7 separate regions of the Homo sapiens genome follow, and all the other regions are linked to region 4. The links are contacts of gene promoters, found by promoter capture Hi-C in blood cells and fetal thymus (Javierre and others, 2016). All regions are on one chromosome and are shown on one strand. The core of a region is centred on a gene start or on the middle of the fragment in contact, and the rest is flanking DNA. Distances in the headings are between cores, read along the strand shown.

Region 1 (2,935 bases), core at 159-2,658, 1.5 Mb before region 4:
ATAGAGAGGTAGAAGTGGGGAGGTGAGGGAAGGACCCCAGCTTTATTTACATTTTTAAAGAGTGAGTCCAGGTTCTGAAAGCACACATAGGTCTCCTGACTTCTTATGTCAACTTTACAACACCGGAGTTGAAATTCCAACATTTGTTCAAACCACACAATTAACATTTTTAACTTTTGTAGACTTCAGTACCCCAAGATAGGAGTCCTTGTTTTATTTTTAAAAATATTTTTTGCATAATGTTAATTAGGAGTTAAAACATTATAAAGTTATGGGAAATAAGTAATTTAATTATGTATGTTGATACAAGTATATCTTCCCTTTGTTGTTTAAATATATTGAGTCAAATTAGTTGTACATGCTTCATTTACTGATTAAAATATCTTTATGTATGTTTACTATTACTCTCTACCTATGAGCACATACCCTGAGTTACTTTATTCTATTTTCCAAGTTTACATGTAATTTTTCTCTTGATGTTATATAGTTGTGTAGGTTCTAGAAGTTATCTGGTCTAACTTCTTAATTTTAAAGAGATAAAGGAAATGAGCCCCATAGAAATGAGGTACATCACTTGCTTAAGTTCACCTGACTGGTGAGAGGTGGCATGCCAGCATCTTAATTCCAATCTAATGTTTTCTTTCCTATACCATGTCCACTGCATTGCCTTTTCATTTGGGATCTAAAATGAGTTTCAGATTATTTTAGATAGAACTTGTATGTGGCATGGCCTTTGCTTTTCTCCTTGAAGCCTCATACATTTTACTTCTCCATTCAGTTTTGTATTTATTTACAAACACTTTATACATTTCACCCCACTGGCCCCATGGAAGAACCATGTGCCATGTGGAATCATTTAAATAGGGAAATAACACCAATTCACCGAGACTTATTAAGTATTCTCTTATAGGTAGGTCCCTCATGGAAATGCCATAATGGTTTAAAATGTTACAATTCCAGTGTATCTGCAACTTCAACAAGAGAGGCACACATATGATTTGCTTCCTATGCCCAGAGACTCCTGTCCTCTCTATGCTCTTTTCTAGATTTAGCAAAATTCAATGATAGTGCTAAATCAATTTTTTTTTTTAACTTTCAAGGGAGAAAACACTGGCACAATTGTGTTTTCTAGGGAAAGCTGTGTGTAAATGAGAAACAGAGTAGAGCAGCAGAGCGCTCTCCTGTGGCCCCACTACTACAAGCTCTGCCCATATTGTCTCCTGCTTTTATATTAATTACAACTTGCATTATCAGCTGTGAGTCTGTAGCCCAGCAAATAGAAAATACTGCCCCTAGAGACCTAGCTTCTTGTATCTATTTTCCATCTCCTTCTATTGTGCTCCACTCAGTATTCACTGCTTTTCTCCTGGTAACACTGCTCTGTAACACAATTACGTAAGAGCAAGAAGAGTACCATATTTGACTCCCAATTACCAAAGCCACTGGGAATAGAAACATGTTCACTCCTTGCCCTCGGGTGTCTTCATGATTTTTTTGGCTGGAGAACAGGACATATATTGTGGCATGCATATACCTGAATGCTCAGTCATACACGGGCACCCGGCGAGCGTTTCTCTTTATTTTTCTACTTGCATCATGTGTTTTTACATGCTTTTGTATGTCACTTTGGTTTCAGGATTCACTAAACTTCTGCATATAATTTGGCAGAAAGCCATGCCATTTTTCTTGAAGGATGGAAACTTGTAAACTCTAAGGGGAAGAATAGAAGAAAGGAGTTGTGATATAAACAAATATTTTAATCTCAGGGAAAACAAATTGTTAAAAGTAATAGGTTTTGTCCATCCATGTCAGTGACAGTTTTTTATGACCAAGGAGGAACAATTTTTTGTTGACCAGATTATCAACATTTGTATTTGTATATGATCACATCACCACCTTGTGTAGCTCAATACAAACAACTTGTGGTAACTCCTCAGCCTTGAAACCCCAGAGGGATTTATCTGTTCTTCCTTCTTTCAAATCAGATGACTATCGTGTGATAGTCCTTAGTTGGTGTTCAGTCTCTCAAACAAGACCATAATACTTGAGACACTCTATGGGAAATAAACATGACACTTTTTCAGGAGAGCATTTTTAAAGAGTGAGAAAGAAAAGAGGGAAGAGATAAGGGAATGGTAGGTTAAAGAGTGAACTTAAGCATATTTTGGGAATGGGCAGAAAACCAAAGACCCAATTTATTTGGAAGAACCAGCTGCTCTTAAAAGTAATATTTGCTTCTGTGGCTTATTTTTCACCCCTTTACTTTAGAAAACATCTCCTTCAGATACCATTGAAAGAAATACACTGAATTATAAACGAATGAGGCCTAACTTGAAAACTCAGCACCAGTTTAGCTGATAGGGACAAACCAGTGTTTTCAGTTACAGGAAGTCCTTCTGAGTGATCCCTTCAAATCAATGCAGCACCTAAACAGAAAGACTTGCTCCGGCTTCATATAAACGATTATATAATAGCTATTGGATGACATTTGCCTTAAAACATAGTTGAGGTGTTAGTGGTTAATTATTATAATTTTCATGAGGGGTAAGGAGCTTTTATAGCAGCCAGCTTAATAAAAAGCCTGCAGTGCATAAAATTAACATCATTGCTGTGTACAATGAAAAGTTTAGCTTAGGTGAATATGTTGCAGCTATTGCATTTTCTAAAAGAAGCCTCTAGCCTGTGTTGTCGCAGGACTAAACTCACACCATGCTATTGCTTCTTTTTCTTTTCTTTCTTTTTTTTTCCATGTAATTCTTCTAGCTCTTTATCTCATTACCGCCCGGCAAACAGCTGACACGAAGAGGCTTCAAAGCTTGAGGAGCCCCTGTATTCTGTTTGCCTTTTGCTTGAAACTATTGGAGTGGTTTCTAACTTAGATTAAAAAGAGAGCTCACAGGCATGACTTTGTCTTTCTACAGGCAGCAGAAAACCT
Region 2 (3,054 bases), core at 392-2,891, 1.3 Mb before region 4:
CTCTCTCTTTCTCTCCCACTGCGCCTCTGCCATTCCTAGATCTCTCTTCCCATGCCTTCGGAGGACACACCTGCAGGAGCTGCTGAGTTGTTTTGGTGACCCGGGAGATCAATAGCAAGGACCCAGAAACACCCACAAGCTCTAAGTGGGTCTAATTTTGCTTTTGAAAAGTAGTAGGAGAGGAAAGAGACTTTATTACCTAACCGTGAGTTTTCCAAGATGATCCCCCTCAGCCAAGCAAAGTTGAGAAGGGTTCGACAGAGGGTGAGGACAAGATAGTTCCCTCTTAGCCCCCTCCACACCTCTACAAGAAACCTGGACGGAGCTCCCCCACCAGCTGAGAACTCCTTGTAAAGGCGCCTTGGGGTCCCCACCTGTGCCACTTACCCAGATCACCACGGCCTCTAGGATCTCAGACCATTCTCATCCCGGAAGCCGCTGACTAGACCAGGTCGGGGAAACACTAGGAGGCCCAGTCAGTCAGTATTGCTTCTCTCTCTCTCATTTACCCTCCTCTTTTAAAGGTCAGCGGAGGAAAGCAGTTTTTCTTTTTCCTTCTTTCTTTCTTTCTTTCTTTTCTTTTCTTTTCTTTTTTTTTTTTTTTTTTTTGCAGTAAATCACATGTGTAATTGCATTCACATAGAATTAAGAAGTAAAATATATCTTTTGTGCAAATGCACTTAGACATGTTTAAAGAGGGACTGCCCTGAACACAGTCGGTTTTTAAAGAATGAAACAATTAAATACAAGCTTTAAAGATAAAGAATATGAAGAGTGCCCAGTATCCCCTTCCATTGCCTTTACATAAATTAGGTGGGTCTCAGGAATAGCTCAAGTATCAACAGTTCTTAAAGCTAACTAACCAATACACAAAAATAACAGATAATCACATCTTTAAAGTAAGTTACCCTCAAAGAAGTTAGAAGTGAATACCTAACTGCAGAGTTAAGCTTTTCCTGCTTCTTTATTTATCCAGGTCTCTTAATTTTAAAACAGATTAAATAATCTGCTCAAAAGGGTTGATATTGCCCACCAAAACAGAGTGAAGACCGTTGTTCATACTTTGAAGCTTATCCATGAGCCTTGGGACTTTTTGAATGTTTAAATGAAGTGTAAATAGATTAAGGTCACAGGTGATTGACAAGATCAAGCTGCTTAACTCAATTATCAAACTTTTATTTCAAAATTATGTTCAATTTGATTCTCCTGCTTTGCTATAAAAGATCTTAGAAAATCCAATAGGAGCAGACAATTTACATTGTGTCGTATGTACTGTGATTTATTTGTAAAATTATTTTGTGATATATATATACCTCCTTTAATGTTTTTGAGGAAACCATGTCTTTCCAATTAGATTTAGGAACACAGCTATCATACTAATTCAAAGGCAGTTACTTTGAAGACTCAAAGATCAGCAAATTTTAACAATTTTCTAAAATATGTCTAAATTTCTAAACTGCAGGCAGAAACTGCAGGCTGTTCAGAATCCAATTCTCTGGATATTGGCATGCTACATTCAATGTCCAGCTACATTAAGTGTCCATCTATCAAAATACTAGGTAAGAGTGCAATTTGTAAATATATATCCTACAACTCTTTTCTAACATAATATCTCAACGTTCTCCTATGCATTATTTAATAGATAACCAAACTCTTCAGATTAAGGCTCATGCTGCCACATCTGGAAATGCTTCCTTTGCATTACCCATCACCACCTCCTCACCTCGCCCCAGCCACCAGTGAGAGAAATAGCTGAAGCCTCCCCTTCCACCATTATATGATAGCATCAGCTTTTAATCAGTGAGAGGCACTCCTATTTAAATTTACAGGATGACTCTTTATTTCATTTATCTTTTCTTTTGGAGGAAAGTGAAACAAGAGCACCACCCTTATTAATTATAAGATTGATGAGGTGAAAAAAGCCAAATGAATTTGGCTTGCAAATTATTAGTCTAGGTATGAATATTTATGACTGTGCCAGGAACTGCAGTCATGAACCCTGGGTATCAGGCATGGGAGAGAGTCAGCCCAGTGCATTCAATGAGGGTTCAGTCTCCCCAAATCTGACATGACATAAATGGAAACTTTGAAATTAGACCCAGGGTGGGCTCCCATTAAATCAGTTTATTTTCTTTCTTTTTCTTTTCTTTTTCTTTTTTTGGCTAGTCTTGCTAAACATGAACTTGCTTCCAGTGGCTTCCTTCATAAGCTTTAAAAACCTTTTAAAGTGAAGGAAGACACTTATAGATTTTGTGAAGAAAACTTTTATTTTCCCGACTTGATATTCACTTATGTTTCAAAGCAAGTTTTTCTGTAAAATATTTGTGACATGCATTTAACATTTTTTAAACTATTTTTATTCCGTTTAAAAATATTGGAAACCTAAAATATCCTGGGTATAGGAAGGATTTAAATAGACACAATTGAAGTTCGATGCAGAGAGAAATGAGAGGGAAAAGAAAGCAGCAATGGGAGAGATGAAAAGACAAGTTTTCTATTTATTTGCTTGTTTTCCTTTTTATGCACCACACTTACTCATGCTTTTTCATCCCAAAGTGAGGAAATTTAAATGAAAGGTGGAGGCAGAAAGCATCAAGGTAGAAAGGAAAGGGTCAAAACAAGGATTTAATAATTTAGTTAAAGACAAACTATATTCTCTTCTTTTCCTCCTCGTGATTATACATGTAAGAGTTTTGTAGTGCTTTGGAAAAGACGCTGGGGGTTTGAGATTTAACGAGCTCAAATACTGCCTCATCACCGGCTTCTTTTCTGTAAAAGAAATGTTGAGTGGGAGCTGACCCAATCCTGTGAAAATGGTTCATTCTGACATCAGAGCCAGCTTCGCACATACATTTTGAAAAGGAAGACAAGTTGTTTTCAAAACAGAAATGCTAAGCATTCTAAAAAGCATAAGCAATTTAAAAAATGCTCCTCAAATTTTCTGAAAAACTCCCAACTACATATATATATATATTTCACAATTGTAAGTGGATATTTGTGCTAAATTGATGCTTTATGTATATCCTGTCTCAATTTGTCTGTTCACTGTAAAGA
Region 3 (3,438 bases), core at 803-3,302, 1.6 Mb before region 4:
TAAGCTGCTAGATCAAGTATATTCCATTTTGACTAGTTTTCAATGAGAATCAAATTCTCCACATAATTTTATACATCCAGGAATTAGGCTTTTCCACAAACAAGTTCCAGCTTTTTATATTTAAAGCATTTCTTTTTTTTTCCATGACCTACGTCCTTCTGATATCATAAATCAAGTTAATATTACAATGTGGCAAATGGCTCTGTAGCTTTGGTTAAGACCCCAGATGAGCTGGTGGAGTGGATAGTAAGAATACTCCTGATAGCCATTCATACCTTGGAAGGGCTGGGAAAAAAAAGTAATTATACATCAAAGGAACTGGGAAACACATAAGTAACTCACTGAACCCAAACCAAGTTTATAACCAGCTGAACTTTCTCTTCAGCCAAATCCCCAAAGTGCCAATCCATCACTGCCTGGCATAAAGGGAGGTGTGATTGGGGGAGATCAGAGTCGAAACAGTCCCAGCAGTTATAACTGATATGGTGACAGTGGTTTAATTTGGCAAAGTTTACAAAAGCGTATGACCATGGGAACACATTAATTGAGCTCCTCCCCGTGGAAGTCGTACATACAAGTGTGGGGGAAGTGTAAAGCTCCATTAGCTTCATGGTGAACCTGTCTCCAATGCTGTGGTTAAAACCACAAGCTTTGAGGTTAGACACTCAAGGTTTCAGTCCCTTCCTACTTGTATGATATTCAGTAATTCAGGAAGCCTATCTAAGCCTCAGTGTCCTCACTTATAAAATGGATATGATAAAACTTGGCCAGGTGCGGTGGCTCAGGCCTGTAATCCCAGCACTTTGGGAGGCCAAGGCAGGTGGATCACCTGAGGTCAAGAGTTTGAGACCAGCCTGGCCAACATAGCAAAACCCCGTCTCTCCCAAAAATACAAAAAAACTGGCTGGGCGTGGTGGTGGGTACCTGTAATCCCAGCTACTCGGGAGGCTGAGGCAGGAGAATCACTTGAACCTGAGAGACAGAGGCTGCAGTTAGCCAAGATTGTGCCACTGCACTCCAGCCTGGGAGACAGAGCAAGACTCCATCTCAAAAATAAAATAAAATAAAATAAAATTGATACGATAAACCTTGCCTTATATGATTGTTGTAGAGTTTAAATGAAAATTTATGTATGCAAACTTCATATTCTAAGGACTCAATAGTAGATAACTATGTTTATTAAGGTAGTAAGTGCTCAGAATTTGTCACCCTTTATAAGATAACCAAATACTCTGCACTATTACTTAAAGTAAACCTTTGGTTTCTAACACCTACAATTCTACACCAGTTTATTTATCTTAATCTCCTATCCAAAAACACACTTAGCCTTCTCTCATTTTCTAATTCAAAGCCTTTATGTCATTCAAGACTCAGCTGAGACCTCATCTGTTTTTCTAGTATTTCGTATTTTTCAGCACTTGTTTCTGGGTCCATTCTCTGAAGGTCTATAGCAACACTATCCAAAAGAAATAGAATGTGAGCCGCATCTGTAATTTTTAATTTTATGTAGCCAGGTTAAAAAATTAAAGCCAAGTCAAATCGATCTCATTAATAGTTTTATCTAACCCAATATATCCAAAATATTATTTCAACATGTAATCAACATTTTTAAATTACTAATGAGATATTTTACGTTCCCATTCCATACTAAGTATCTGAACACTGTGTGTATACTTTACACTTACAACACTTTAAATTCACAATAATCACATTTCAAGGACTCAATAGCAATGTGTCTAGTGGGAGCCATACTGTACAGCACATGTCTATAGCATGAATAGTTTATATCATACTATTTAATCAGCATTCAGTAAAGGTTTGCTGATCCATAGTTTGGATGCATTTAGTCATCAAAAAAGGAAAATGCAACAGGCAATGTGATTTTCTTTCACTTATGCTACTTTTTGCCTTCAGTGAATGGTGCTTATCCCAGAATGAAAACTCTTGAGTATGTGGAATAATGCCAGTTGCAGACTAGTATTAATATGTCTGCTCTGGCATTCTTGTGAATAATACAAGAGTTAAGCAAGGAGACTTGTATGTGGTAATGCCTTGCGTATAGAATAAACCATCAGACTGAGGTGCTTCTAGATATGAATGGAGACCAATATAATCTCACCACCACGTCTAAAAGTGGGGCTCCAGTTTTAAATGTTCACTTACCAGTAATCAAAAATTAGTTTGACTGTTGATTCACAACTGTCTTATTAAAGTAGAGGTTGCTTTCAAAACACAACCAGGGAAGTCACACCCAAGGCATATCACATCTTGTGTGCTACAAAATACCCAGGTCTTTCTACAAACCTTTTAAACTCTGACATGACAAATAATTTATAATTTTTCTACCCTGAATATTTTTCAAAGTTTAGATACTAATCAACTCACATGGCATAAATATACAAGACTTTCAGACCATATAAACCCACATTGCATTAATATTCCAGATTCAAGTAGACACTGGATTTCCAAACATGGTTTTTGTTTCTTATAGGCATGTAAGAAAACATAGTTTACAATATGGAAAATTTTCAAGGTACACTGAAAATAGCAGAAATTTTTAAAATGTATGACTCATCCAGTGAATCACTGAATGTTCAAGGAAAATTTATCTTGGTGTTTTATAGTTATTAGCTTTTTTAAAAAAAAGTTAAAATATATTCTGATTATCAGGCTGACAACAAGCAATACTTTTCATATTATATTACGTTATTTGACTGAAAATGTGTTTCATCTTATTTCTTTTCCGGTATGTAATAAAGTACAACATTCACAAAGCTCACTAATGTCTGTTCTTGTATTGAAAAACTACTTCCCAAACATATTCCCCTCAAACATATCCCACAAAATACATTCACAAACACAGTAAAGGCAACTTCAATTACTTCTCAATGTTGGAGCATTTTATTTTTTAATTTTTAGCTTTCTTATCAAAATCTTAACAAAAGACTTGAGCAAATTCTATTTTCTCCATCAAACCTTCTTGAGCAGAGACTCCGCTTCTTTCTCTGAATTCCTGTGTGAATACAAACTTGGCATCCGTTGTAATCTTCCCTTTGTTATGCTTACTTTTCTATGTACCTAAATCCTAGCTCTACAATACAGTTCTAAGTTTCTTGAAGCCATAGGCCCTGTCTTATTCGTCTCCTGTGGCTCTCAGCAGAGACTTGGATAGAATAAACATTAAATAAATGTGCTAGAAATCATGACGATTTTGATCATAGTTTACAGGAATATCGTTCAGCAGACCAATGACATGATATAGCAATGTCAGCCATTATAAATGCACAGGAATATTTTCATATTTCTATCTTTTCCAATTCGACTTTTTGGCCATCTTTTTTAATAAAAGTTCTTAGTGTCTCATTGGCATTTTCATTCCAAAAACTCAAGTTGAATTTAAATTAAAATAAAACCCTAAAACGTCTAATTATGTTCTAG
Region 4 (3,363 bases), core at 729-3,228:
CCTGCATTTGCATATTAAAAGGCTAGGGTGGGAGAGCCAGGTTTTTCGTGGGCTATGTGAATGACATGCCTGGTCAAACCAATCCCCTGAGCCCTATGCAAATCTGACACCGCCTCTTCCAGTCTCCTCATATAACTGCCTGTTAACCCCAGCACTGGGGGTTTCCTCTCTAGGCTTTGGAGCCCACTTCCATGTGTCTCTACAGGGGAGCTTCTTCCTTTCTTCACCCTTCTTTCTTGCCTATTAAATTCTCCACCCCTTAAAACCACTCCATGTGTGTCTGTGTCATTTTACCCAATTCGGCATGAGACGAGAGCCCTGGTGCTTCTTCCACTCATTGGAGCTGTATCATTTTAAGTGTGTTTCACGTATTTATCTCCTCCAATTAGACTGCAAACTTCTTAAATACTTGACTCATTTGGTAAATATTCATAACTGCAAAATCTTAAAGCTGTATGATTCTAGACGCTAAAACTGATATGTAGACTGTCACTGCTCTAGTCACCCCTACTATTAGAGTTGAGAATGTCAAAATAAAATTGAATGCTTACTATGTACCTGGCATAATTTTAAGTTCCCTACATATATTAACTTACTTAATTCATGCCTTTGGCATCATCCCTCATGACTTTCTTTCTCTTGTATCCCATATCGAATTTGATTCTATTGGCTCTATCTTCAAAATAGAGCTGGAATCCTCTTACTTCTCACCAAATTCACCATGTTGATTCTAGGCTCCGCCATCTCTCTACTGGAACACTGTAACAGCTTCCTAATAGGTGGATTCTCAACACTGCAATCCTTTTAAAATTTTAAGTCACACCCTTCAAAAGTCTGCAATTACCTACAAGACCCTATATAATCCTTCCCCTCCATCACCTTAACCTGCTCTCCACTACTCTCTGCTTTGCTCAATCTGCTCCAGCAACACGGATCTGCCTTAATCTTCCACAAACACACAACGCACCTAGAGCCTTCGATTTTTTTTTCTTGTCTGGAGCACACCCCAATCATACACATAGCGAACTCTCCTTATTTAAATTGGCTCAACTCTCATCTTACCAATAAGGCCTACATAGACACGATTTAATTCTGCAATTTGCCTCTCCACCTCTCTCCTGACTCTCCCCCACCGCACCCCGCCCCTTTCCAATAGCACTTTTCACTCTTCAACAGACTATTTACCTTTAAGATATGTATTGTCTGTTCTCTCCATCCCCATTTAAGCTCTATGCCCGGAATGCCGGGTTTTTGTTTTATTTACGGTTGTATCCACAGAGTCTAAAACAGTGCCTGGTACACGAAAGGCACTCAATACATACTTGGCAAATAAACTTAGAAGCTAGATTTTCTTTCTGCAAGGCCATTGCTCTTTGGTGAAGAGCCTGGCCTGGCCTTGTCAAATACACAAGCTTGACCAAGAGCCAAAGCCACAGAGGGCCTAGAGGTGGGGGGGGCTAGCCCCAGATTTAAAAATTACCACAGCCCCTGGGGATCTGAGTTTCACATCTGGACACACAGGTTTGGAGGACAGAGGAGATGTAAGTTAAAAAGCAGAAGTGTACAGTTGTTTCTGTTCTGTGGGGTGAGGAAGGACAAATTTCTTCTGCGCTTGCACGTCCGCAACTGTGTCAATTTGCAGCAATTGGGACGCTAAATCCCCTCTTACCAAAACAAATCCTGCGCCACTGGGCTTGGGCTCTGCAACGCGGACCTTGCCCTTCCCCCGGCAGCTTCAGTGCCCTCACTTAGGTGGTTAGGCCGTGCCTAAACCTCATTCTTTCCTGGGCCGAGATGTCCCTGCCACAGGGTCAAGGTGCCAAGGTGCCGCACCCTCCGCGCTCAGGTGTCCCGCAGGCAGCCGCGGGGCTCGCAGCGCCGATCCGCGGACAGGCGGCGGAGCGAACACCCGGGCGAGGCCCCGCGGTGCGTCACGCGAGCTGCGGCGCGACCTCCTGGCTCCCGCCCGCGCTCGCCGCACGCACGCGCACTGCGCCCAGCATGAGGGTCGCGGCTCTGATCAGGTAATGCGGTCCTGGAGCCGCCTCCTTCCTCCTAGGCCAGGCTCTCGTCCCTTCCAGCCGCCGCTAGCGCCGAAAGAGTGGGTGTCTCCGTCTGAGTCGCGCGTTGGGGGTTCCGCGGCTCCTCCGAGCCACAGGAAGAGGCGGAGCCTTCGCTGTTGCCGGCCCGCATGTGCCTCGGCCCCTGGCTGGCGCGCCTCCTCCCTGTCTGTCGCTCTCTGGTCTTCTAGCCCTTAAACTTGGATTCCCATTGGATTCAAGTGGGAAATTAAAAAAAGTACCGACGCCTGGGCCCCACCGCCAGAGGGATTGGTTTAATTACTTCTGTGCGACCCGGCGTCTGATTTTTTTTTTTCAAGCTCTAATGAGCCGTGAAGTTTGGAGCCACTACCTTATTCCATCAACTCAGTTAATAACCCTCGCCCTTTCCCCCTCGCTTTCTTCGTCCTCTTCTGTAGTTCCTTTGGTCAGCTGGGTCCGCCGCAGCCTGGCTTCCTCCCTAGTTGTAAGTGTTTCCGCCCATCCCAAGAAGTCCACCCCTCCCTCATCTTCACAGATGTGGATTGCTTATGGCATGTGTGTGTTTCTGCCTTTGGGCACTCAAGTACAGAGATCTCTCTTCGTGGTAGAGACCGAATTGTACTAGTCTTATGCTAGATCCAGTTGCTGTTGCTTCGGACTCTCATCATTGCTTTAGAGTGACCTTACCCTATACTCCGTATTCCAAAAGGAGTTTGATGTCTGTAGTAACCAAATCATAAATTTAAGTGTCTAAATAAGTCCTGTGACTGACAAACCAAAAACAAACCTGCTTAAATATTTCCATACTCAATCTATAAACTGAGGCAGAAGGGAACACACTAGCAACATTAAAAAGTTAGACTACTTAAATACTTGTTTCATGAGATTTTGCCCTGTAGAGTGTCTTAGATACAGTGCAACGATGTGCTTGCTTTTGTAATCCAATTGAAGATTTCATAAACGTTTTCGTTAAGTCCCTTAGGTAATTGATACTGGCTGTAAGTTTTGACCTATTAAGGACTTGATATGAGATTTCAGACCTACTGTAGTGTCTGGAATATTCCGGTTCCCTTTCCTTCAATGTCATTTTTAGGAGACTAGACCATAATGTCACAATAATTATTGTTGTTCAGTAAATGTCCTCTGTAACATAAATGATTAAGCTTTAACCATTGTGTCTTATTTTAAGAATTAAAAGTACCCCAGGAAGTGAATAATTCAAATTTACATCGCTTGCCAAAAGTTTAACGATTAAAGTAAAGCACAACAAACAAAGACTTAGAAGTATTGGAGGGGAGGAGAGAAGATTGGTAGAGTCAGT
Region 5 (3,137 bases), core at 402-2,901, 1.6 Mb before region 4:
ATTAATTGTATTAGTTTACAGTTTAATACATTTATTAAAGTGGGTTGAAGATCAAGAAAATCAGGATATGACTAATGAATTGGCAGAAAATAATCAAGAAACCAGAAAACACAATAAGGGCCACAAGGAAGAAAGAATCCTTTGTATTTAACAGAGGGTAATATAGTGGGTTTAAAAAAACTGAATCTCTACATTTGAGCTGTTGAAAGTAATTTTCAGTTCCACATTGTAGCCATAGATGTGGGTGGCTAAAACGGACATATACGTGTGCATACACACACACACGTGCACACACACACACAATGTGAGTGGGAATGGATTTGGGGATATGAGGTGGACAAGAAAACAGTGGACCAAGTGGGGATGATCAGGGTAAGTGGACAAGAGCAACCTGAATGAGAATTAGCCAAGATAATGTAATTTTGTAGTTTGAACTTCAACAAAGATTCACAAATATTTAGCAGCATTACCATGGTAAATTATACTTAGGCATCAATTAACGTTGAGAGAGAAATAACCAATTTTGTAAAGACTGTGTAAAAACAAATAACCTGCTTAAATTGTGTTCTATTTATTAGTATGTTCAATTGTATATGAATGCATCCTAGGTCCTAAAACAAATGGCCCTACTTCATGTTTCTTCTTCACAAATACGTTCCGACTTAGTTTTCAAACTGTATATCTATATCTCAAATAAGCCTGGTCCAATTCATTATACAAATAAGACACAATTGGTAAAGTACATGAATGAAATCTCTGAAGATGGCATTTTTCAAGTGAGTCTCTGTATAATATCACCTTTGAAGTTTATTCTACTTTTCTTATCATACACTCTAGTCACCAAGGGAAAATTTATTTAAATGTTTCTGTTTCCACATATACCTCAGCCAACCTCCTACAGTAAAAAGTAATGCAATATTGTATGTGCTTTTTTGGTTTTATTACTAATGTATATACTAATAAAAGCTAAATCTTAATTCATTAGTATCATTGATAATTTGGAAGAATATAGAAGGCTAAAATGTAATTGAAATGAAACACATGACTCTTGCAAAGACTTAGTTCTGACCTAAGAAAGCCTCTTCTACTCTCAATTCCCCGTACCCCACTCAATCTCTTTAAGTCTCCCATAGTAGCCTAGGTATATTTCTACTTTTGTTCATACCAAAATCTTTTTATACGCCTGCCTCTGTTTTCCTCTAAAAACCCATTGAAGCTGAGAATATATTTAATTAATCTTTATATGTCAACACTCATAAAAGCACCTAGAGAATATTGCAAGCTTAATGAATATCTATTTGAACGACTGAATGGATGTAGGAATTAGTGATTGAATATTTTCTATCCAGTTATTAATGCTATTACATTACAGAACATCTCTGGCTCAGGATTCAGTGTTCTGGTTCTATATGAGTTCACAGCAGAGTATTATATTTTAAAGAATTATAAAGCTCATACTTCTACACTGCTAATCCAAAAATCAGCCTTTATTTAAAAATTAATTTCAGTGTACCCTATATAGTCTTAAAACATTATTATGCCTCCTGATAAAACTTCAAATTATATGTTCATAAATTTGTTTTTAACCTGTCAAGCATACATTGCGCCCCCTGTTACATACCCATTTTATTGTTATTGAAATCACTGGATTCTAAATTGCAATGGCATTCCTTTATTTCAGCAGTAATTTAGCAGGGACAAGCCCAATGATACATGGAAAATGCTTATTACCTCCTACACCTCTGCCTCTAGCTCGTCTAACCCTTTTTCCAACATCTATGAAAATAAGAGTTCCCTCCTTTCTCATCTGTTTTGCTCAACAAGATGCAGAGGGAAGAACAATGAACTTCAAGCAGGCAGTTCAGGGATTTGGTCCCAGGATTGTTACTACCTTCAGTTAATTAGACTTTGAATGCTTCTCCTAACAGTTCTGAGTTTCCATTTCCTCCTATATAAAATGAAAGGGTTGCACAAAATGATAATTGTAAAAATAAATAAAAGCTCTATTTATTAAGCTTTTACTATATGCAAAGAACTGCACTATGTGCTTTACATGCATTATCTCATTTAATTTTAATCCTCTAAACACGTTTATAAGGTGTATCAGTCAAGGTCCAGCAGGAAACAGATGGTACACATCAAATTGGGTAATTTGAGGAGAGCTTAATAAAGGAACTTTATTAAAAAGGTGTGAGCAGGGTGTTAGGAAACCACGAGGGACAGTACACTGCCCCAAGGCTAGTACTGGAGAAGGACATTGTTACCTAAATCCAGAAATGGAACTCTGGGAAGAAGACTGCTTGAGCTGTGGCTGGAATGCAGCCAGCCCTCAGGGACCCTGGGAATCAGCACCCAGACCTCGCTCTGCCCACTCTAGGCAAGCCCAAGAGGAAACAAGGGCCATTCTAAAACCATCCGTACCAGCCTTCAGGGGCACAAACCAGGAGGGGGAAAGTAAAGGGTGGACCTGCAGGGGCTGACAAATGTGTCCAGTAATATCAACCATTGTTATGCTGAGTTTATGCATGAGGTTAGTAGAGTTTAGAGGAGTCAGGTGACTACTAAGAGTTCACAATCAGCACAGGCCAGACCTAGTATTCAGCCCCTTCCCGTCAGACTCCAGAGCCTGAGCTCTTGATGGCTTTTTAGCCCTTGGAGTCCCTTTTTGTCTTTCTAGGGTTAAAAACAGCCTCAGAAGTGATCTGATTCAACCCTCTCCCTTAGAGATGTTTGAATAAGATGTCTCTCCATTTAGGACATGAGCCTTGCAGAGACCTCAGTCGCCTTTGAAAAGCTAGTGGTCTGTGTGCTCATTCTTCCTGTTCCAATACTGTGGCTTGTATCCTGACATGTAATTTTGATTTGTAACCCTGAATGAGACACTTGTAGAGACAAAGTTGTCAGGCAGTCAAAAGGAGAGAATGGCATTTTTTACTATTAAAATTTTTTCTTTCTTCTGACATTCTCTCCTCATTAAGCAAACTTAAGGAATTTTCCATTGACGAAGAGTTGTCTAGTGAATAGCTTTGCTTGGGGTCAAGGTGGAGAGTAGGAAGGGCAGTAAATTGATGACTGGATTTTCCAATTTCATGTGCTGGAGTCAGAACACAGCCCAAGACTCTGTTAAATGTGTTCCA
Region 6 (2,986 bases), core at 190-2,689, 1.4 Mb after region 4:
AACAAAGTAGGAAAACAACCCTTAATGTTTCATTGTATCTTTCTTTTTATTTTTTTGAGACAAGGTCTTTTTCTGTTACTCAGCCTGGAGTGCAGTGGCGAGATCATAGTTCATGGCAGCTTCGAACTTCTGTACTCAAGTGATCCTCCTGTCTCAGCCTCCTCAGTAGATAGGACTACAGGCGGACACCATCATGTCCAGCTAATTTTTTAATTTTTTGTAGAGACAGGGTCTTGCTATGTTGCCCAGTGTGGTCTCAAACTCCTGGCCTCAAGTGATATTTCTGCCTCAGCCTGTCACATTTTTGGGATTATAGGCGTGAGCCACGGTGCCTACCATTTTTCCAGCTTCTTTTGGAATCATATGACTTAGGTTTTTACTAGTAAAATACAACATGTAGTAGTTTGTATCCTGCCTTTTTCACTTAATATTTTTGAACAGCTTTTGATACCATTTCATGTTCTTTATTTGTATGTAGAAAGGTTGATGGAGAATTTCCAGGCGCGGTGGCTCATACCTGTAATCTTACTTTGGGAGGCTGAGGTGGAAGGATCGCTTGAGCCCAGGAGTTTCAGACCAGCTGGGGCAACATAGTGGGACCCCATTTCTACAAAAAATAAATAATTAGCCAGGAGTGGTGGTGTGCACCTGTAGTCCAAGCTACTCAGGAGGCTGAGGTGGGAGGATCACTTGAGCCGAGGCGGTTGAGGCTGTAGTGAGCTGTGATCATGCCATTGCGTTCCAGCCTGGGCTACAGAGCAAAACCCCGTCTCTCAGGAAAAAAAGAAACATTGATGGAGAATTAATATGAGGAGTTTATGGTGATAATCTTATTGGAAAAGGGGTAGGTAATTTGTATTGTAGCTGTTTTGCATAACTAGCACACAGTTTTGACTTACATTTGTGCTTATTGGAGGTGGCTTAGGACTTAGTTAATGGAGATAAAGGGAATTGGGCCTGAAGACTCCTCATGCCATTTCTTGCTATCATCACAATGTATATAAGCCATAATTTATTTAACCAGTCCTCTGTTTTTGGACAGGTGGTTTTCATGTGTTTTTGTTTGTTTGTTTGTTTACATAGTAATATTATATTCTATACTTTTTTGCACTTTTTATTATAGAAATTTTCAAACATTTATAGAATGGCATTCTACTGTTTTGTTTCATGTCTTTTGTGTACCTCATTAATTTTTTTCTGAAATATTTTTAAATGGTTCTAAGCATAATAGGATTTTACTTGTAAAAGCATTATTATGTATCTCCAAAAAATAAGGACTTAAACAAAAACCACATTACCATTATTGATTCAACAAAATAATCATGCCTTAATATCATCTAACAGTCCCATTTTTATGTTTCCTCAGTTTTCTCAAAAATATTTTTTATATAATTGTTCTTTCAAATCAGGATCCAATAAGGCCTACATTTTGTAGAGTACATTTTTAAGGATGAATTTTAAATTTTGTATTGCAAACTTTATGTTATTTTTCTCAAGTAAAATATTTACCTTAGGATGATAAATATATTTGCTTTTTCTTTAATTATTTCTGATATTATTTGTGTTCCACTGTCATCAGTTTGTTTTTTTCTGGATCTGAAAAAATGTTTTGAAATTGGTTGAGTCAGGGCTGGGTACGGTGGCTCATACCTGTAATCCTAGCACTTTGGGAGGCCGAGGCAGGCGGATCACCAGAGGTCAGGAGTTCGAGACCAGCCTGGCCAACATGGAAAAACCCCATCTCTACTAAAAATACAAAAAAAAAAAAAAAAAATCAGCCAGGCATACTGGCGGTAGTCTGTAATCCCAGCTACTAGGGAGGCTGAGGCGGGAGAATCACTTAAACCCAGGAGGCGGAGGTTGCAGTGAGCAGAGATCACCTCACTGCACTCCATCCTGGGTGACAGAGTGAGACTCTGTCTCAAAAAAAAAAAAAAAAGAAAGAAAGAAATTGGTTCAGTCAGGGTCCCATTAAGAAGTAGAAGATGCACTCAAATTAGAGTAATTCAAGGATAATTTAATGAAGGCATCAAACAGTGTAGTCATGGTGTTGGGAAACAGCCAGATTGTGCAGTACCCTGGAGCTTACATCCTCAAGGTTATTATCACCACCTCTAATCCTGAAGGAAGAGGAGAGTAGAGGTTACTGGAACCTTGAAGGGAAGAAAGGCCTGCATTGAAAGACACAAACCAGTCCCTTAACACAGCCAGTCAGAGGTGGCCTGTCAGTGAGAGGTCTGGGGGGAAAATAGACTAAGCTCATTTTCTTTCCTTCCTCCAGTCTGCAAAGAGGAGAAAGGTAGAGAGTGGATCTAGAGGGCAAATGGAACATGTCCAGGCCAGGCATAAGTTAACTTTTTTACATTTCAATTCTGGCTTAGTGTGCTCTGGAGTGACACTTTTTCATCTTACTTTTTTTTTTTTTTTTGAGACGGAGTCTCGATCTGTCACCCAGGCTGGAGTGCAATGGCACAATCTCGGCTCATTGCAACTTCCGCCTCCCAGGTTCAAGTGATTCTCCTGCCCCAGCCTCCTGAGTAGCTGGGACTACACGCGCATGCCACCACACCCAGCTAATTTTTGTATTTTTAGTAGAGACAGGGTTTCACCGTATTAGTCAGGATGGTCTCGTCATCTTGCTTTTTAGTAACTGTTGTGGATATCATCAGTATCAGTTATTCCTTTAACTATGAAAGAGCCTATGAGGATTTAAGAAGCATTATTTTAATATATTATTATGATATCGGGAATTCTCTGATACAGTTGGTCATTTTAGAACCATTTGTTTTCCTGAAACATAAACTTTTTTTCCCCCCTCAGAATAGTAGTTTCTCATTTTTCAAACAAATTAATTTTGATCTGTGAAATGAAATTATCAGCTCTTGATAGGATGGTTTTCTAAGTCTAGGAAGTTTAGAAGAAATCAGTAAGGAAAAGATGGATGTTTTTAACTACATAAACATTTTAAGCTTCTAGTAACCAAAGT
Region 7 (3,186 bases), core at 9-2,508, 1.5 Mb after region 4:
TCATAGAAGGAAGTTTTTGGAGATTGGAGCAGGGGATGATATATATGGGGGCAAAGCTAACCATATCTCAGCTAAAGGAGTTAGAGGACTGTCTTTTTATGAGTTGTTCTGTTACCTTAACATCTGTAGGACAAGACCATCTTTATATTCTGCATTCTTATGCACACTGATTTAAAAAATTCTTTTTTGCATGAGGCAAAATTTGCTCTTACTGAAGTATTTACAATATCTTGAGGGCATAGCAGATAAGATATCCCTAAAGAGAGTAGTTGTATACAGCAATACAGAGCTGGAAAAAAAAGTATAAAACTTAAATTTAAATGTAACAAACTTAAATCTTGTTAGGATTAAGATAGGTAATAGGCAAAACTTGAATGAGATATAAAAACATTTTTAGGGTCAGTTTACCTCGTGTAAACTGACAGAAACTAAGGTAAATGACAGAAACTAAGACCAACCTAGTGCCCACTATATATCACATTTTGTTCTTATAACTCTATTATATATATATAATATATATGTAATGTAGAATTATGTAATATAATAGTATGTAATTATATATTAACTACAATGTTATATATTATTTATATATCCATATATAGAGAGTAATCTTTATTTTTACAGGTTAACTGACTTGCCTAAGCTTTCACAGCTAGTGGCAGAGCTGGGATTTATATCAAGCTGCCCTTGAGTCAACAGTATTTTATCTCTTACTTTTTCGTGAACCAGTTACCACTTTATTGAGAACAAAGTAGATATTCCTTAGCTGCAGGGATCGTGCTTTAAGAGTAATTGTAGTAATGGTACATTTGGTGTTAACTATGGTGTCTGGCGCACAGGACTTTACTAATAAGTGTCTTTAAGTTGAATTGAGTGAGTGAAGGTGCTTCTGTTTTGTTAATCTCTGTTGAATTAAATTGGGTGAAATGATGGTATATATTTTTTTTTTTTTTTTGAGACGGAGTTTTACTCTTGTTGCCCAGGCTGGAGTGCAATGGCATGATCTTGGCTTGCTGCAACCTCCGCCTCCCGGGTTCAAGTGATTCTCCTGCCTCAGCCTCCCAAGTAGCTGGGATTACAGGCATGAGCCACCTTGCCCGGCTAATTTTGTATTTTTAATAGAGATGGGGTTTCACCATGTTGGTCAGGCTGGTCTCGAACTCCTGACCTCAGGTGATCCACCCGCCTCGGCCTCCCAAGGTGCTGGGATATGGATTACAGGTGTGACCCACTGCGCCTGGTCATGATGGTATATCATTAAAAGAAAGAATAATACAAGACTTTAAAAAATTTAAGATAGTATTGTAACACATTCTGTTAAAATTTTAGGCTTTTTCTTTTGTCGAGTTGGTCTTATCCCTTCATCATCATGTTTTCAGCCAAAGCTGGAGGGAGGGATGTTGGGCAGATTGTTCCTTAATTTTGGTTTGGATTGGTCATCTCTAAGTTCCTTCCATTTCTCAGATTCTGAAGTACTGTTTGTATTTAGTCTTGCTAGGACACCATTTTTGGTGCTTAACCATTACATGAGACAAGATTGATTGACTTTCCTGAAGCCTTCTTGTTCTCATATCCCATGGTGCATTTGTGCCCCAAGGAGAGAGTAACCGAAATGATCAAAGGAAAAAAAAATCATAATAGACTCCTAGCCATGTAAAGACCAGTTGTCCACCTTCAGAAACCAATTTTGTGTACACCTTTGCTTTCTATTTTGGACCACTGCATACAAATGGAAAACAAAATCAATCTAACCAACTTCTACATAGCTATGTAATACTCCAGGGTAACTTAGTTGAGTACTAAGTTGAGTACATCTCTTAGTCTCTTGCTCTTAAATCATTCCTTCTGTAAATGGTCTGAGCTCTAAGCTTACTGATTATGGGTGAGCATAATTATCTTCACGGAATACTCACTAGAAGCATTATTGTACTAGATACAATCATTAACTTTAAAAAAAAAACACAAAACTGGCTGGGTGTGGTGGCTCGCGCTTGTAATCCCAGCACTTTGGGAGGCTGAGGTGGGTGGGTCACTTGAGTCTGGGAGTTCGAGACCAGACTGGGCAACATAACGAGACCCCCTCTCTATAAAAAAAATACAAAACTGCCGAGCATGGCGGGGTGCATCTGTAGTCCCTGCTACAAGGGAGGCTGAAGCAGCCGGATTGTTTTGAGCCCCGGAGGTGGAGGCTGCAGTGAGCTGTGATCCTGCCACTGCACTCCAGCCTGGGCAATAGAGTGAGACTCTGTCTCAAATAACTAACTTACTAACTAAATGAATAAATAATCCCCCTATCACTGCCCCCAATACTAGGATTGTTTAGTATTTATCTTTGTGATGGGCTGTTAGCAGAGAGGAAGACAAGGCCAGCTGGTAGTCTTTGGAATTTTTTTTCTTTTTTCCTTCCTCTAGTAATAACAGTAATTCACATTTGTCGAGTACTTAATATAAGATGAGACAGCTGAGGCACCGTTAAATAACTCACAGTTAGGAGAGGTGAAATAACTTTTTAATATCACTCAACCAGAAAATTGCTGAGCCTGGATTCCACCCCAGCATTTTCACTCCAGAGCCTGTTCTTTCGACTGCTGCTCTAAACTGCTCCTGGAATGACTTTGAGATTTGAAAAAGGGGTGTGTGGAGGACTGTTGAGTGATTCTTTCACATGCCTGATTATTTTTTTAACTGATATGTTAGTATGGTTATAAGGTTTTAAGGTAACATTGGTACCATCTTCAGTTATTGTGGGTGTTACCAGACCTTTGCTTTCTTGCTCCATGTTTATATTGCAGCTTTTCATATTCCTTTTAAAATGATTTATATTCAATAAAAGATGAGACAGCTGTTTATAGTTGTACTAAAAAGTAGAATCTGGAGGCATTTAATTCTGATCAAACTTTTGCTTTGTAAACAAAGCCTGAGTAGTAATTAATACCCGATGGCGTTGACATTTTCATTTCACTGGGTAAAAAGGAAATCTCTAATTTTCTATTCAAGTTTAGTGTGAACCTGGAGGGAAGAAATGGTGTCAGATCAGTTACAGGCAGGTGTCTAAGGACTTGCTCCTTCATTGTTGCTCAGAGTAGCCACCAGCCGCTTGTCAGCCAGCTAGAGACTGAGAGCCTGTTAAAAGCTCAAACTGAAATGACAGCCTCTAGACTTTATTTTCCTTTTTTTCCAGAAAGC

Evidence for each region. Contacts are between HindIII fragments. The CHiCAGO score rates a contact against its expected background, and 5 or more counts as called.
Region 1: a contact is called between a fragment that was not itself captured here and the fragment with the promoter of DPH6 in region 4, in 1 of 17 cell types (fetal thymus). The highest score is 5.3, in fetal thymus.
Region 2: a contact is called between a fragment that was not itself captured here and the fragment with the promoter of DPH6 in region 4, in 1 of 17 cell types (fetal thymus). The highest score is 9.3, in fetal thymus.
Region 3: a fragment that was not itself captured here is called in contact with the fragment with the promoter of DPH6 in region 4 in 2 of 17 cell types (M2 macrophages and M1 macrophages); the score reaches 7.3 in M2 macrophages.
Region 5: a fragment that was not itself captured here is called in contact with the fragment with the promoter of DPH6 in region 4 in 4 of 17 cell types (fetal thymus, naive CD8 T cells, M1 macrophages and 1 more); the score reaches 7.8 in fetal thymus.
Region 6: a fragment that was not itself captured here is called in contact with the fragment with the promoter of DPH6 in region 4 in 1 of 17 cell types (total CD8 T cells); the score reaches 8.7 in total CD8 T cells.
Region 7: a contact is called between a fragment that was not itself captured here and the fragment with the promoter of DPH6 in region 4, in 1 of 17 cell types (non-activated CD4 T cells). The highest score is 8.6, in non-activated CD4 T cells.

Annotation. Positions count from the first base shown.
Region 1 is chr15:37,085,755-37,088,689 of GRCh38, reverse strand. All of the region lies in intron 6 of MEIS2 (Meis homeobox 2), which reads left to right. Among named protein-coding and RNA genes, the nearest start is that of MEIS2, 13 kb to the left of the region's middle. The HindIII fragment of the contact is 2,819 bases long and covers 1-2,817 here.
Region 2 is chr15:36,874,865-36,877,918 of GRCh38, reverse strand. It overlaps LOC145845 (a long non-coding RNA gene), which reads left to right. Exons shown (of 7, transcript NR_024264.1): 5 at 1,463-1,559. Among named protein-coding and RNA genes, the nearest start is that of MIR8063, 97 kb to the left of the region's middle. RefSeq lists an enhancer at 1-245. The HindIII fragment of the contact is 1,140 bases long and covers 1,072-2,211 here.
Region 3 is chr15:37,135,990-37,139,427 of GRCh38, reverse strand. No RefSeq gene overlaps it. Among named protein-coding and RNA genes, the nearest start is that of MEIS2, 37 kb to the right of the region's middle. The HindIII fragment of the contact is 2,801 bases long and covers 652-3,438 here.
Region 4 is chr15:35,544,780-35,548,142 of GRCh38, reverse strand. It overlaps DPH6 (diphthamine biosynthesis 6), which reads left to right and starts at 1,978. Exons shown (of 9, transcript NM_080650.4): 1 at 1,978-2,024. The coding sequence starts at 2,002. DPH6-DT (DPH6 divergent transcript) reads right to left here and starts at 1,948. Exons shown (of 3, transcript NR_038251.1): 1 at 1,670-1,948. RefSeq lists enhancers at 1-55, 2,043-2,977 and silencers at 1,506-1,555, 1,856-1,995. The HindIII fragment of the contact is 1,793 bases long and covers 1,415-3,207 here.
Region 5 is chr15:37,112,890-37,116,026 of GRCh38, reverse strand. No RefSeq gene overlaps it. Among named protein-coding and RNA genes, the nearest start is that of MEIS2, 14 kb to the right of the region's middle. The HindIII fragment of the contact is 733 bases long and covers 1,285-2,017 here.
Region 6 is chr15:34,097,411-34,100,396 of GRCh38, reverse strand. The region is part of intron 1 of EMC7 (ER membrane protein complex subunit 7); the gene reads left to right. Among named protein-coding and RNA genes, the nearest start is that of EMC7, 3.0 kb to the left of the region's middle. The HindIII fragment of the contact is 3,064 bases long and covers 1-2,971 here.
Region 7 is chr15:34,034,879-34,038,064 of GRCh38, reverse strand. The region is part of intron 1 of AVEN (apoptosis and caspase activation inhibitor); the gene reads left to right. The region is part of intron 1 of CHRM5 (cholinergic receptor muscarinic 5); the gene reads right to left. Among named protein-coding and RNA genes, the nearest start is that of AVEN, 2.7 kb to the left of the region's middle. The HindIII fragment of the contact is 1,225 bases long and covers 646-1,870 here.